Linked DNA regions of Homo sapiens: regions 1 and 2 are each linked to region 3. Evidence: promoter capture Hi-C in human tissues and cell types (Jung and others, 2019). All regions are on one chromosome and are shown on one strand. Each heading gives the region's core, a stretch centred on a gene start or on the middle of the fragment in contact. The rest is flanking DNA. Distances are from core to core; before and after follow the strand shown. Region 1 has its middle 24 kb from the start of TSPAN9. Region 2 overlaps TEAD4 (TEA domain transcription factor 4). Region 3 holds the start of TEAD4 (TEA domain transcription factor 4).

What was found. Contacts are between HindIII fragments. The study calls those that stand out against the background at their distance.
Region 1: a fragment that was not itself captured here is called in contact with the fragment with the promoter of TEAD4 in region 3 in 6 of the 25 tissues and cell types used here (aorta, dorsolateral prefrontal cortex, hippocampus and 3 more).
Region 2: a contact is called between a fragment that was not itself captured here and the fragment with the promoter of TEAD4 in region 3, in 2 of the 25 tissues and cell types used here (H1 embryonic stem cells and IMR-90 fibroblasts).

The regions. Positions count from the first base shown.
Region 1 is chr12:3,051,543-3,056,188 of GRCh38, reverse strand. No RefSeq gene overlaps it. Among named protein-coding and RNA genes, the nearest start is that of TSPAN9, 24 kb to the left of the region's middle. The HindIII fragment of the contact is 4,772 bases long and covers 1-3,643 here.
Region 2 is chr12:3,028,797-3,033,640 of GRCh38, reverse strand. The region is part of intron 10 of TEAD4 (TEA domain transcription factor 4); the gene reads right to left. Among named protein-coding and RNA genes, the nearest start is that of TSPAN9, 46 kb to the left of the region's middle. RefSeq lists an enhancer at 915-1,476. The HindIII fragment of the contact is 4,891 bases long and covers 1-4,335 here.
Region 3 is chr12:2,957,878-2,962,261 of GRCh38, reverse strand. It overlaps TEAD4 (TEA domain transcription factor 4), which reads right to left and starts at 2,865. Exons shown (of 13, transcript NM_003213.4): 1 at 2,781-2,865; 2 at 2,222-2,314. It overlaps LOC124902859 (a long non-coding RNA gene), which reads left to right and starts at 2,214. Exons shown (of 2, transcript XR_007063159.1): 1 at 2,214-2,521; 2 at 4,037-4,384. RefSeq lists an enhancer at 1,960-2,695. The HindIII fragment of the contact is 29,957 bases long and covers 1-4,384 here.

The DNA.
Region 1 (4,646 bases), core at 8-2,507, 96 kb before region 3:
TGGCTGGGAGGGGGAGAAATAGAATAGGAGGCCTGACACAACTCTTCATTTGTTATGTGACTCCCCCCAGTAGAATATAAGCTCCTTAAGGGCAGGGACTTTGATTTTATTCACTGCTGCATCCCCAGCAGACAGAACAGTGCCCAACACACCCTAGGTGCTTAGTACATGTTTATGGGATGAATGAGGCCTGTCTGGACTCTAGGCATTCCTAGAATTCCTACTGGAGGCCCTGGGAGGACACAAACCCAGAGGAGGGAGCAGGGCAGAGGGCTAACAGAAAATGGAGGCCACCCGGGGAATGTGATGAGTTGCCAAACCAGGAGAGCAAAAGCAAATATCAAAGCCAGGGACTCCAGCCAGGAATCCAAGCCCCAGCCAGATGAAGAGAAAGAGCAAGTGGGCCAATTATAAGCCGGGAGGGGCTCGAGGCCTTCCCAGGAGCAGGCATCTGAGGCGTGCTTTCATGTGTCTCCAGGGCCAGTGCTAGGGTGGGTCCGTCAAGATGAAAGGGGCACAGGGATGTGATGGACGGAATGGTGTTTCCTGGGGGCTCTTCCTTTTCCAGAACTAATGCTGGGAGACAGCGTGTGGTCTAAGAAGTCACAGGCTGGCTTTGAGTCCCAGCTTCCACTCTCCGACTGTGTCAACTTGAGCGAGTTACGTACAAGTCACTCACCTTTGCTTGCTGTTAAGACGGTGCAAACCCCTAAACAGCTTAAAATCAGAAATCTGTGTGTCCCCGGCAACTTCAACATAATGTTGGCAGACACCAGCCCCAAAGGGTCTGTGCAGGATTGGTGGGGATTTAGAGAAAGAAATTGGAAAGAAGTCAGCAAAGTAGTTACTGACAAGGAAAAGCAGAATAAGAGAATCATGCCAAACTTCAAAACTTCTCAGCTTGGCCTCTGAGGGAGCGAGGCTGTGAAGAGAAGCAGATCCCTTTGATTCTGAGAAAACATTGATATAGTCACAAGACACTCAGCAGACTCTTGGTCTGAACATCTGATTACTCCCTGATTACTTCTAAGATGGGATTGCTAGCGCGCCAGCTGGCAAGCACATTTCCCTCTCGTGGTGCTTGTCTAATGTTTACTTCCCTCTATTCTCCACAATCTCCTGCACCCCACATCACCCCTATAGAAATATTTTACTAGCCTGGGCAACATGGCAAAACTCTGTCTCTACAAAAAAAAAATAATACCGAAAAATAAGCTGGCCGTGGTGGCGTGTGCCTGTGGTCCCAGCTACTCTGGAGGTTGAGGTGGGAGGATTGCTTGAGCCTAGGAGGCAGAGGCTGCAGTGAGCCAAGATCGGGCGACTTCACTCCAGCCTGGGCAACAGAATGAGATCTTGTCTTAAAAAAAAGAAAAAAAAAGAGAGAGAGAGAGAGGAAAGGCAGGAAGACAGGAAGGCAGGCAGGAAGGCAGGAAGGAAGGTAGGAAGGCAGGGAGGCAGGGAGGCAGGGAGGCAGAGAGGCAGGGAAGGAGGGTAATTGTTGCACCAAAAAGGGATTGCTTTCTCCCTTAATGCTGGTGCTCTCTGGGGCCTTCAGGGCCAGCTTCCAACTCTCCTACCTGGCCTTAGGCAAACCCTGCACATGCGTCACCTGCTGTCCACCTCTTTTCACGAGCACTGTGGAGGCGCCAGGACTTCCAAGTTGAAGTACAGTGCAAGATCTGCAACCTAGTAACCAAGTGGCGTTGAGTTAGTGATTTCTCTGAGCCTCTATTTCTTCATCTGTGAAGAGGATGTCTACAGTATCACAGTGTAGCTGTAAACGGCAAGAAAGACGTTGTATTTGAAAGCGCTTTGTAGGGGGCCAGGCGAAGTGGCTCACACCTGTTATCCCAGCACTTTGGGAGGCTGAGGTGGGCGGGCAGATCACGAGGTCAGGAGATCGAGACCATCCTGGCTAACACGGTGAAACCCCGTCTCTACTAAAAATACAAAAAATTAGCCGGGCGTGGTGGCGGGCGCCTGTAGTCCCAGCTACTCGGGAGGCTGACGCAGGAGAATGGCGTGAACCCGGGAGGCGGAGCTTGCAGTGAGCCGAGATCGTGCCACTGCACTCCAGCCTGGGCGACAGAGCGAGACTCCATCTCAAAAACAAAAAACAAACAAAAACAACAACAAAAAAGAAAGTGCTTTGTAAACTGAAAAGTGCTGTAGTCAGGGTGGCTGGGCACAGTGGTTCATGCCCATATCCCAGCACTTTGGGAAAACAAGGCAGGAGGATCACCTGAGTACAGGAGTTCGAGACCAGCCTGGGCAACATAGTGAGACCTCCATCTCTAAAAAATAAAATGAAATAAATTAGCGGGGTGCGATGGCATGCACGTGTAGTCCCAGCTACTCAGGAAGCTGAGGTAGTAGGATTGCTTAAGGCAAGGAATTCTAGGCTGCAGTGAGCTATGATCACACCACTGCACTCCAGCTCAGACAACCAAGCAAGATCTTGTCTCTGGGAAAAAAAAAAAGAAGAAGAAGAAGCTGGGCACAGTGGCTCAGGCCTGTAATCCCAGCACTTTAGGAGGCCAAGGCAGGAGGATTTCTTGAGCCCAGGAGTTTGAGACTGGCCTGGGTAACATAGTGAGACCCCTGTCTCTACAAAAAATTTTAAAATTAGCCAGGCGTGGTGGCGCATGCCTGCGTCCCCAGCTATTCAGAAGGCTGAGGTGGGAGGATCACTTGAGCCCAGGAGCTCAAGGCTGCAGTGAGCCATGATCACGGCACTGCACTCCAACCTGGGCAACAGAGTGAGGCCATCTCTAAAAAAGAAAAAAAAGTTTCCAGGAGTAGTGGTCAAATGCTATTGACAGAGAGTTAAGATGAGGGCAGAGAAATGCATTTGTCGTAGAGATCCCTGGTTTCCTCTACTTCCTGAGTAATAGGATTCCTCCATATGGCATATGGTCACTCAGAATAAAAACTATATTTCCTAGGGGCTCCTGCAGCTAAGTGAGGCCAATGAAGGTAAGCAGAAATGCAATTTCCAGAAATTCCCAAAAGGGAGGGGCATGCTCTTCTTCACTCCTTTTTCTTTCTTTCTTTCTTTTTTTTTTTTCTGGAATCTTAAAATTTATTTTGCCATTTTCCATGGAATATAATAAGAACACCATAAAAATGTGTATCAGTACATTATAAAATTGTAAAGCTTATATTAGTAAAATCTTGAAAAGTAAACTATAGAAATAGCATAAAACAGCAGAGTTCGACATTTGAGCAACCCATTGTCTAAGAAAGCATTGTCTTAGTCCTTTTGCGCTGCTATAACAGATATCTGGGACTGGTTTATTTATAAAAAATAAAAATTTACTTCTCTCAGTTCTGAAGGCTGGGAAGTCCAAGATCAAGGTTCCAGCAAATTCTGTGTCTGATGAGGGTCCAATTTTGGTTTCCACAATGGTGGCTTGAAAGCTGCATCCTCCAGAGGGGAGGAACACTGTCCTCACTTGGCAGAAGGCAGAAGGGCAAAAGGGCCAACAGCCATGGGAAGCCTCTTTCATAAGGGCACTAATCCTGTTCATGAGGGGAGAAGTCCTTATGATATAATCACCTGTTAAAGGCCCCACCTCTTAATACTATCACATTGACAACACCTGAATTTTGCAGGGGACACATTAAAACCATAGCAGCATAGATCTTACTTTCTTTTTTTTTTTTTTTTAAACTGAGTTTCGCTCTTGTTGCCCAGGCTGGAGTGCAACGGCCCAATCTCGGCTCACCGCAACCTCCGCCTCCCAGGTTCAAGCAATTCTCCTGCCTCAGCCTCCCGAGTAGCTGGGATTACAGGCATGCACCACCACGCCCAGCTGATTTTTTTTTGTGTGTGTGTTTTTAGTAGAGATGGGGTTTCCCCATGTTGAGGCTGGTCTCGAACTCCTGACCTCAGGTGATCCGCCCACCTCAGCCTCCCAAAGTGCTGGGATTACAGGCATGAGCCACCGCGCCCGGCCGCATAGATCTTACTTTCTTACTCGATTTCAGACATTGAGGTGTCAGCAACATACATAACTACCAGATATTACCAGAAAAAGATGATAACAGAAATTTTGTTAACAGATGTTAGGAGAAAAAAAAAAAAGCAGTCTCCCTACCACAAAATCTTGTCAGGGCCTTCAAAAGCTTCACTCCTTTTTCTTTTCAGTTGAATGGAATGTTATGTAATGGTCTTGGATTTCCTGAAGCTCTTCTGGACCATGATATTACCTTAGGAATAGAAACTACCCATTGTAAAGCAACAAGGTAAAATGATCTTGGAGCTAGGTATGGTGGCTCACACCTGTAATCACAGCACCTTGGGAGGCCAAGGGGGCAGACTGCTTGAGTCCAAAATACTCCAACGTGGTGAAACCCTGTCTCTGTGGAAAATACAAAAAATTTGCTGGGCATGGTGGCACACACCCAGAGTCCCAGCTACACAGGAAGCTGAGGTAGAAGGATCCCTTGAGCTCGAGAGGCACAGTTTGCAGTGAGCTGAGATCGTGCGACTGCACTCCAACCTGGGTAATAGAGTGAGACTGTCTGAAAAAAAAAAAAAAGATATTGGGTCCTTGATACCATGGAGTACCTTAACAATAATGGACAGATTTCATGAGAGAGAAATACTTTTCTATCTTAAATCACTTATATCATGCCATTGC
Region 2 (4,844 bases), core at 641-3,140, 72 kb before region 3:
TGTGGGGGCCTGGAGGGGCTCAGATTCATTGTCATGTGCTGGTATGTGCCTGGGAGAAATGTCAGGGACTGAAAGGGAAGAGCAGGCTGAGATGGGAGGAAGGCCTGGGGTACTCTGCTGCCTCCACGGTGCAGCCCGGCTCTGCCTGGCATTTCCAATGTGCAGAGCGGCGTTAATGGCCACCAAAGGCCCCCTCTCACCGGCCCCAGAGACAGGTGGCCTCTGCTGGACTTGCGGGGCTCTGGGGGAGGAAGGGAGCTTCATCGCATCAGTCCCTCGCTCCAGGCCCCGTGGCGCTCAGCAGATAGGGCTGAGGCTGTGCACAGCCCTAGCAGCCTCAGCCCTTCAGGCTGGCAGATGCCACTTCTAGCTGGAAATGTGTCCCAGCAGTCCGAGAGTCTATGAATGACCACCACAGCGCCCTCAGTAAGAGCAGTAACTCAGGGGACAGGCAGGGAGGCTGGACTGGAGACGGACAAGTCCTCCTCCCACTCCAAGGGGGTTCTGATTGCCTCTCCAGCACACACATTCAGGGCCTGGGAGCCAGGACTGAGAAAACAGCCAGGCAGGAAAAGAAAGGCTCCGGGAGAGGCGACACCGTTTCCTTGCCTGAGCAGTTTTCCTTCCTAACTGTGTGTGGCCAAGTTCACACCAGCTGATGGAGGGGGAAGGCGGGACCAGGCCAGGGAGCAGAAGACAGGAGCTTCCCGATGCGGGGGGAGCCGGGGCAGCCTGTGAGGACCCACGATTGACGCAAAGTCTCATTGTCAGCAAACACGAATATGTACCTTTCCCCGTCACATATGTGTCTTCCTCTGGTGCCTCTGCCCGCCCCACACATGCGGAGGAGGGAGCAGATGACCGCCAAGGTGCCCTGGCCTCCGGCGCTCCCTCATCTCTGATTTCACCTGCCCAGGCCGCTGGCACTCAGAGGGCTCAGGCAAGGGGTGGGGCAAGGGCAGGCCACAGCCCCCCACTCAGTACCAGCCGGCCACATACACGGGGTCTTCAGCGACACAGCCCCTGGCAGGTCCCCAAGATCAAACTGCTGACTATTCACACAAAGAAGCAGAGGCACAGAGAAGCCAATATTTGCCCAGGACACAGTTCTCAAGTGGTAGAACTGAGACTCTGCCCCAGCTGGGGCCAACTGCTGCCCACCGTGCCCTGCCATGACACATCAGAAGGGCCTTGCTGGGGGGCACACCACAGCCCCCTGTCCAGCGGCTCCTGTCCCAGGACCCCGAGACTCGCGCTGGATCCTCCCATCCAGAGTGCGAGCTCCTGGAAGCCGAGGGCCGCGCTGGGTCCGTACAGCACACGGCTGGAGCACACGGTCCACAAGGGAACCTGCTGAATCCCATGTCTTTGGCACCAGCTGTCCCAACCCTCTCTTCTCCCATCAACCCCCACCTCCAAACTCCCCTAAGAGTCAGAAAGAAAGAGAGGACACAGGCCACTACCAAGTTTGGAAAAGTACCTTCTAGGTCCTCCTTCCTTCCTGGCAACCTTAGTCTCCACGCAGGGCCACTGCCCTATTTTCTGGAAGGGATATCTGAGGTCGAGAACGCCCAAGAAGCCCAAGGGGCTGGCTCTACATTGACTGCACAGAGCTAAGTCTGCTCTCCCCACGCTGCCACTGCCTGCTGTTCCTCAGGGGGCTGGGGATCTGTTTTAGACAATTCAGAGCCTTCTCCAGTGGGAGCAGGAGAAGCTCCAGGATGCTGCATGGAGGGCAGCCAGTGACTTCGCAAGGAGGACTGTTTAGTATGGTGGCTCCAAGCACACACCCTGGGGTCAGGCTGCTCAGGTATGGACCCGTGGTCTGGTATGGGTCTGGTACTATGAACTGGGCAACCTTTGGCAGGTGATTCTACCTGTCTGTACCTCAGTTTCCCCTCTGCAGATGAGGTTATCCAGTCTTGGCTGTGGTGAGGATGAGACGTGTGACTGTATGTAACGTGGTGAGAAGAGTGCAGCTGTCATCTCTCTCAGTCTATCTGGGCCCATCTATCTCACAGCATGTATCCAACAGGAGTGCCCACAGGACAGAGGTCACCCTGGCTGGGGGACTCAGGGCCAGGCCCTGCTTACTCCATGCCTCAGTTTCCCCTACTTGTGAAACAAGAGACCTAGGATGGTCCTTATCTGGAGGGTGGCTAGAAGAACACAGAATATCACCAATAGCTAAAGGCAGGAGCTAGTGCAAGAGGGTCCCGGACATGCCACCTCCCGCTCCAAGGCAGTGTTCCCATGAGTGCTTCCTGCCACTGCCAACTGGGTCTCCGCTCTGACCCCAACTGTATCCCCAGGGTCCTGAGCCATGCCGGGAAAGAGCCACAGATCAGCTCGCCTAAGCTCCTTCCGCTGAGTCAGGGCTGAGCCTGGACAGGCCGGGGGCGGTGAGTGCTCAAGCAAGGGTGAAGGCTTCTCCAGGGGGCTGGGGGCCCCCTCAGACTCACAGCAGGGTTGGGAAGCGCCACTGCCAGCTGTACAGGTTCCAATTCCCACAACCGGGGCTGGACGGGAGACTGGGAGATGATTTAAGCCCCTCCTGAGAAAAAGTGGACAGCATCCTGCCTCCCACGCCACACCCTGAAGCCAGCCTCTCGGCCGAGGTCCTCAGGAGGCACATGCGTCTTGCCTGGTCTCCACTGCAGGAGTCTCACACCTGCTTCCAGTCTGGGTGCCAGAGTTAACCAACTAAGCACAACCCTGGCCACGTCCTGCCCTGTTCGAAAACCTTAAATGACTCCTCATCGCTTAAGGAGAAGGGCTAACAAATATTTCCCTGGCTACGCACGTGGCCATGACCGTCCACCCAGCACTCCTCCCTGCTAGAGCCTTCTCAGCCCAGCACTCCAAACAGCGACTGCCGACCCCTTCGAAGTGGCACACAGGTCACCCCATCATCCTGGACACCTGGCTAAAGGTGGGAGACTGACTACCCCAGTTTATTTTTTCCCCTTCCAGAGACCCAGCTAGAAGGACAACAGCAAGTAACTTTAAACAATATGCAGCACCACAAAGATAAAGAAAACAAAGAGACCAGCTGACAAGAGAGCTGGGCAAGCTTTGGAGACTCAAAGCTGATTAGGACCACACTGGATTCCACGGGGTAGAGAAAGCAAAAAGAGTCACAACCTACCAATATCTTCAGGGGTGACAGATAAGAAGCTGAGCTGCGTGGCTCGGAGCTGGAGGGAACAGGATTTGTCCCCAGGAACTGACAAAAAGTCTGTACACTGGACAGTCCAGCCCCCAGGCCCACCCCTCCCATGCATCGGTAGAAGATCAAAGGGTCAGCCGGGTATGGTGGCTCCTGCCCGTAATCCCATTACTTTGGGAGGCTGAGGCAGGAGAATGGCTTAAGCCCAGGAGTTTAAAACCAGTCTGGGCAACATAGCAAGACCCTGTCTCTATGAAATTAAAAATTAAAAAACACACCAACAAACAAAAAAACTTTTTAAAGAGGACCAAAGGGTGACCATCTTCAGAAATTAAACAGGAGGGCAACAGGTCTCAGGGACACAGGGCTTATTCAAAAGAGAGGGAAGAGGGGGAGTAAGAACAGGAGAGTTAAGTGAAAGCCAGCATCAGAAATGGTCAGGGCCCCTACCCCCGACCCTTTATCCCACTACCAGAACACTTGTGACCAAGTATGTCCCTTCCAGGGAAATTAGATGAATCGTCTCTGGAGAAACTAAATCACCTCAGGGGGAAAAAAAAGTCCAGTAAACACACATATTTATTGATTTCCCCAATAAAACAGCTAGCTCCCCAAGCCCAATCACCCTAAAGCGAAACCCACCAGGTGACAAGTCCTACCTTGCACGAAGAGCTCCCAGTCACTACTAAATATAACCAGAACAAATAACAAAAGGAAAACTTGATAAACTGGACATCATCAACACTAGAAACGTTTGTGCATCAAAGGACACTACTAGGAATGTGAAAAGGGGCCAGGCACAGTGGCTCACACCTGTAATCCCAGCACTTTGGAAGGCTGAGGCAGGAGGATCACTTGAGGCCAGGAGTTCAAGACCAGCCTGGGCAACATAGTGACACCCTCTATAAAAAATTTAAATAAAAATAAAAACTTGGGCCGGGCGCGGTGGCTCACGCCTGTAATCCCAGCACTTTGGGAGGCCGAGGCTGGTGGATCACGAGGTCAGGAGATCGAGACCATCCTGGCTAACACAGTGAAACCCCGTCTCTACTAAAAATACAAAAAAATTAGCTGGGCGTGGTGGCGGGCGCCTGAAGTCCCAGCTACCTGGGAGGCTGAGGCACAAGAATGGCGTGAACCCGGGAGGCGGAGCTTGCAGTGAGCCGAGATCATGCCACTGCACTCCGGCCTGGGTGACAGAGTGAGACTTCATCTCAAAAAAAAAAAAAAAAAAAAAATTGGCCAGGCGTAGTAGTGCATGCCTCTAGTCCCAGCTACTCAAGAAGTTGAGGCGGGAGGATCACTTGAGCCCAAGTTCAAGGTTGCAGTGAGCAATAATCATGCCAGTGCACTCCAGCCTGGAAGACACAGCAAGACCCTGTCTCTGAAGAAAAAAAGAAAAAAGAATGTGAAAAGACATTCAACAGAATGGGAAATAATAATTACAAATCATATAACTGATAAGGAACTTTCATCCAGAACTAAGAACTCATAATTCAATAATAAAAAATAACCCAATTTATTATAAAAATGGGCAATGGGGTTGGGGACAGCGGCTCACACGTGTAATCCCAGCACTTTGGGAGGTTGAGGCAGGCGAATCGCTTGAGCTCAGGAGTTCAAGACCAGCCTGGACAACATGGTAAAACCCCGCCTTTACCAAAAATACAAAAAT
Region 3 (4,384 bases), core at 1,616-4,115:
AACTAGCCGGCCGGGAGGCTGAGGCAGGAGAATCGCTTGAACCCAGGAGGCGGAGGTTGCAGTGAGCCAAGATCATGCCACTGTACTACTGCCTAGGCGACAGAGCGAGACTCCGTCTCAAAAATAAATAAAATAAAATAAAATAAAAATAAAGTAAAATAAAATAAAATGGGGGACTTAGATGCTGACATTAGGGTATCTAATAATGTTCAGCAAGCTCACCCTGGGGCCAAGGCAAAACTGGAATCAGAAAATAGAAGCTGGCACTCTGTTCTCTGGTGACAAAGCCCTGTCTGTCCCCCTCCCTCCTGACCTGGGCCACTAGGACCCTGGATTCCTAAGGACGCGGAACACAGCGTAGGGCCTGGCTCACAGTAAATGCTCGATTCATGTTTGCTAAATAAACATGATAGACAGGGCAAGGTTTCTCAAATGGTGCTCAGAGAAACACTAATTCAAAAAACACTAATCCCTAGGAAAAAGGGGTTCTTACTGAAATAAGCGAAGGAAACACTGGATACAACAGCTATCCTATGGAGTCCATGGGATGTGCCAGGCACTGTGCTGCTGGGTGGGGGCTCTGCAGACATCGACTTTTCACAAGAAACTTTCTGGACAGAAAAGCTCCGCTCGTATTACCCACCAGGAAACAGCCTGAGAGCCTTAAAGGTAGTGAGAGACTCAGGATTTGTACCCTGGTCTGCCTGACCCCAAACCTGTGCCCTTTCCACTCCATCAGTGCTGCTTTTAGACCAGTCGCACACCAGGCCGAAGAGGTGAGAGGGTGAGGTGTTTCCCACAAGAACATCCACATCCTCAGGATGGATGGAGGAGCAAGGACGAGAACCCCCAACCCCCGAGACAGTTTCTGGCTCCTTCCTTCCAAGAAGCCCTACACATGATATCCACGTTGAAGCCCTCATGCAACAAGCTACTCATTCCTCTTCTCAAAGGAAGTGCTGAGTGTCTGGCAAGTTGGAAAGAATGAGGGATTCTTCTACTGGGTTACCTGGTCAGCTCCGAGGAGAGTTAAACCAGGAAAAGTAGTTCAGGCTGGTATACCTCCCTGTTTGTCCTTGAGGGCAACTTAAAAGCACTATTTACACAAGTCTCCAGATTCAAAACTGTCTCCTTTTCCCGGGGATCCACCCCGACAAACCTTCCCAAATCTCACCCGCCCATCCCATCCCCCAAAGGCAAAGATCTCAACTTCCTTCAGCCTCCTACCAGCTTTTTGACCTATTCCAGGCAAGCACAAGACCCTCGCCCTGAGAAAGTCAGCCTCCTGGCTCCAAGAGGCAGGTGGAGCCAGCTTCCTTCCAGCTCTGCCCGGTCCAGGGGAAACGGAGCCTGGAGGCCACACACTCCAAAACCACAGTCAAATTATCCCTGCACTCAGGCAACCAGAGACACTGACTCTTGCCCACGGCTATGTAGGGAGGAAGAACAGTCCTAGCCAGAACCAACATCCTCGAAGAGAAACACATACTCAAGAGACGTGGCATCACACACCTACTCAGAGATACTCACTTTCAGACAGCCCCTTCTCACGCAGACATATACACACACTCTGTCACTCACGTTCAACACAAACAAATACGCCCACTGGAAGCCAAGGTGAGCCACACGTGAACAGACATCACCCACACAGAGACTCAAAGCGAGGGGGACTCGCAGTCAGGTGTCACACAGACTCAGCACAGACGCAGTCAGTCCGCGGGGCCTCAAGTGCCTCAGCACAACGGGGGAAATGTTCACTTTGGGGTTTGAAAGTTCTGCTCCCTGGATCGATCCACTAGTCCCCATCAGGAAACACAGCAGCTTCCCAAGCCCTGAGGTGTAGGACCTTTTGCAGGGGTCCCCCGACTTTCGCATCGCCTTTGCACTTAAAACAGGCAGTCCGCTTACCTCCAGGTCTCTCCCTTCCAGGCTCGAAAAGGGCCCAGCAGAAAAGAGGCATGGGTGCTGGGTCTCTTCTGTTGCCGATGCTCTCGGTTCTGCCTCTCCGGTCCTTTCCACACCGGCCTCCCTTTCCCCCAAAGTCCCGAGTGTCCACCCCCCTTACCCGCCCCTGGAGCCGCTTCGCCTCCAGCAGCCTCAGTCGCGCCGCCTCCACGTGCCTCGCTCTTCCCAGTCTCGTCCCGGGAGGGAGCTCCGCACGCACCGCGCAGACTCCTGCCCTCCGGCAAAGTCCTACCAAGTCCCCGCGCCCCAGCCTTACCGGTCCCAGGGTGCGGGAAGGTGGGATGGGTGCGCTAAGCCAGTTCCAAGGAGTCCGCCCCGAGCGCCAACTCTTCCGGCCGCGGCGATCGTTCTGCGGGGACGACAGGGCGTCAGCGCGCAGAGCCGGGCTCCGGCCGGGGCCGACGGGCGGCGCAGTGAAGGCGGGGCCGCGGGGCCAAGCCCACCCCGCGCCGACCGGCCCCGGTGCGCCCAGCGGAGCGGAGCGGAGCGCGCGGAGGGAGGAGTTTTCCCAGAATGGGACTGACGGGAAAACACGGGGATCCCTATTCCTGGAGGAGTGAGTCAACCGGGAGCGAGGAGGGGAGCGCGGGGCGGACAGGAGGGAAGCGGGAGAGGGGCAGCGAGCAGCGCCGGAGCGCGGAGGGAAGCCAGAGGTCGGGACGGAGCGCGTCGGAGCGCAGAGGTCCAAGGCGGGAACGCGGGCGGCGGAAAGAAAAGAGCAGCCGAGCACGCGGCGCGAGCGGTCGGCTGCGGCGGCGTGGGGCGCGCGGCCCGTGAGGGCGCCGGCGGGTGCGGCGGGCGCGGGCGCCTCTCACCTGGCGGGACGCGGCGGCGCCGGAGCTGCGGCCCTCCCGCCCCCTGGCCTCGAGTGTGCGAGGAGGACGCTGGAATGCGCGGAATGAGGGCTGGAATGAGATGCGCGCCGCGGCGGGAGGGAGGGAGCCGGAGGGAGTGGCGGCGGGGCCACCGGCACCTCGGGGAGGAGACTGCGCCGCGCGCGGGCGGGCGAGGGGCCGGGCCGCCGGGGCGGGGCGGGGCCGGGCCGGGCCGGGGCGGGCGGCGGGGGAGGGGGCCGAGGGACGGCGGGGACCCCTCCACCCGGGCCTCGGCTGCGGCCCCCACGCCCACTAGCCCTTCGATCTCTCCGCTCCGACTGTTTGGCTGCTCGTTGCGCGCCCCGCGCCCTCCCCTCCTGGCGGGGTCCCGACTCCCTTTCCCAGGAGCCGAGAGCCTTCCTCTTCGCCGGGGTGGGGCTGTCCCGGGGGCGGGGGGGTGGACGGGGCCCAGACTCCCGCCCCGCCACCCGGCGTCCCTCCGCACGAGTCCCTGGGAGGCCGGGGAAGGGGCGGGCTCCCGGCGCGCAGGAAGGGCTGCTCCCTTCCTGCGGCTCCCACCAAAGGACACTTGCTCCGGGGAACCAGGAAGCAGGAACTCGCGGGCTCCATTCCCAGATCCGCTGCCAGTGCCCCCTCGCTTGCCCTCCCCGGCTTTAGCTCTTTCCGTTTTTCTCTCCTGCCCCTTGGGCATCTGTAAAACCGCCACTACGAGTAAACCACATGGGAGAAAGGGCACTCGGTTTGAAGTCCATGTGGCATGCCATGGGACGCCTTCTGGGCTCAGTGACTCAATGAATATTCATCTAAGATGTGTGATGAGTCCAGATACTGTGAAGATCAGGATCAGCCGTCAGCACCTGCCCTCAAAGAGCTCAGAGTTTAGCTGGGGAGGCCTCGGTGTATACTGCCATCGGTGAGAGTCTGGACTTCAGACACACATGCCCAGGAGTCTCTTATTGGGGCAGGAGGTGCTGGAAACACGCTGGGCTCCTTGTTTGGAGACGCTTAGGACAAACGGGCTTAAAGCAGTGTGCTGGCAGGTAGCGCCATCATCTACCTGGCCAGGAGACTGAAACCAAAGGACTTTTGGCTTTTTCCAAAAATCAAATCCAACCTTTTCTGGGGCATTATCACTTAGCCTTGTGTTGGGTGGTTGTCTAGATCTTATCTCCCTTGCCAAACAGAAACTTCCTTGAAGACAGAGTAATGTCTGATTTATCTTATCTTTCACACAGATCCAGCCTGGTGCCTGGGATAGGGAAGTGCATGATAAATGCTGCATAAATGAAAAACAATTGCTACCGTGGAAGATATTGAAAGGAAAGTGCTATCGATGCCAAAGTTGTTTCCAAGAGAGGTATTCCAAAAGTGTTTCAAGCAATGACTGAGCTAAGCATCCAGTCCTGCAAGGTGAAGGCGTTGAAGACGCAGCCCTCATTTGAATAGATGAATTGTGGTATTCTTGTTAAATAATGAATCATATCAAGGCTTGGTCACACCTCATGCACATGAAAAGACCAAAACGCAAGGCAGCATATCAGCGCCACGTGAAGTACACACTAAGCACCAACTATTTAATTCAG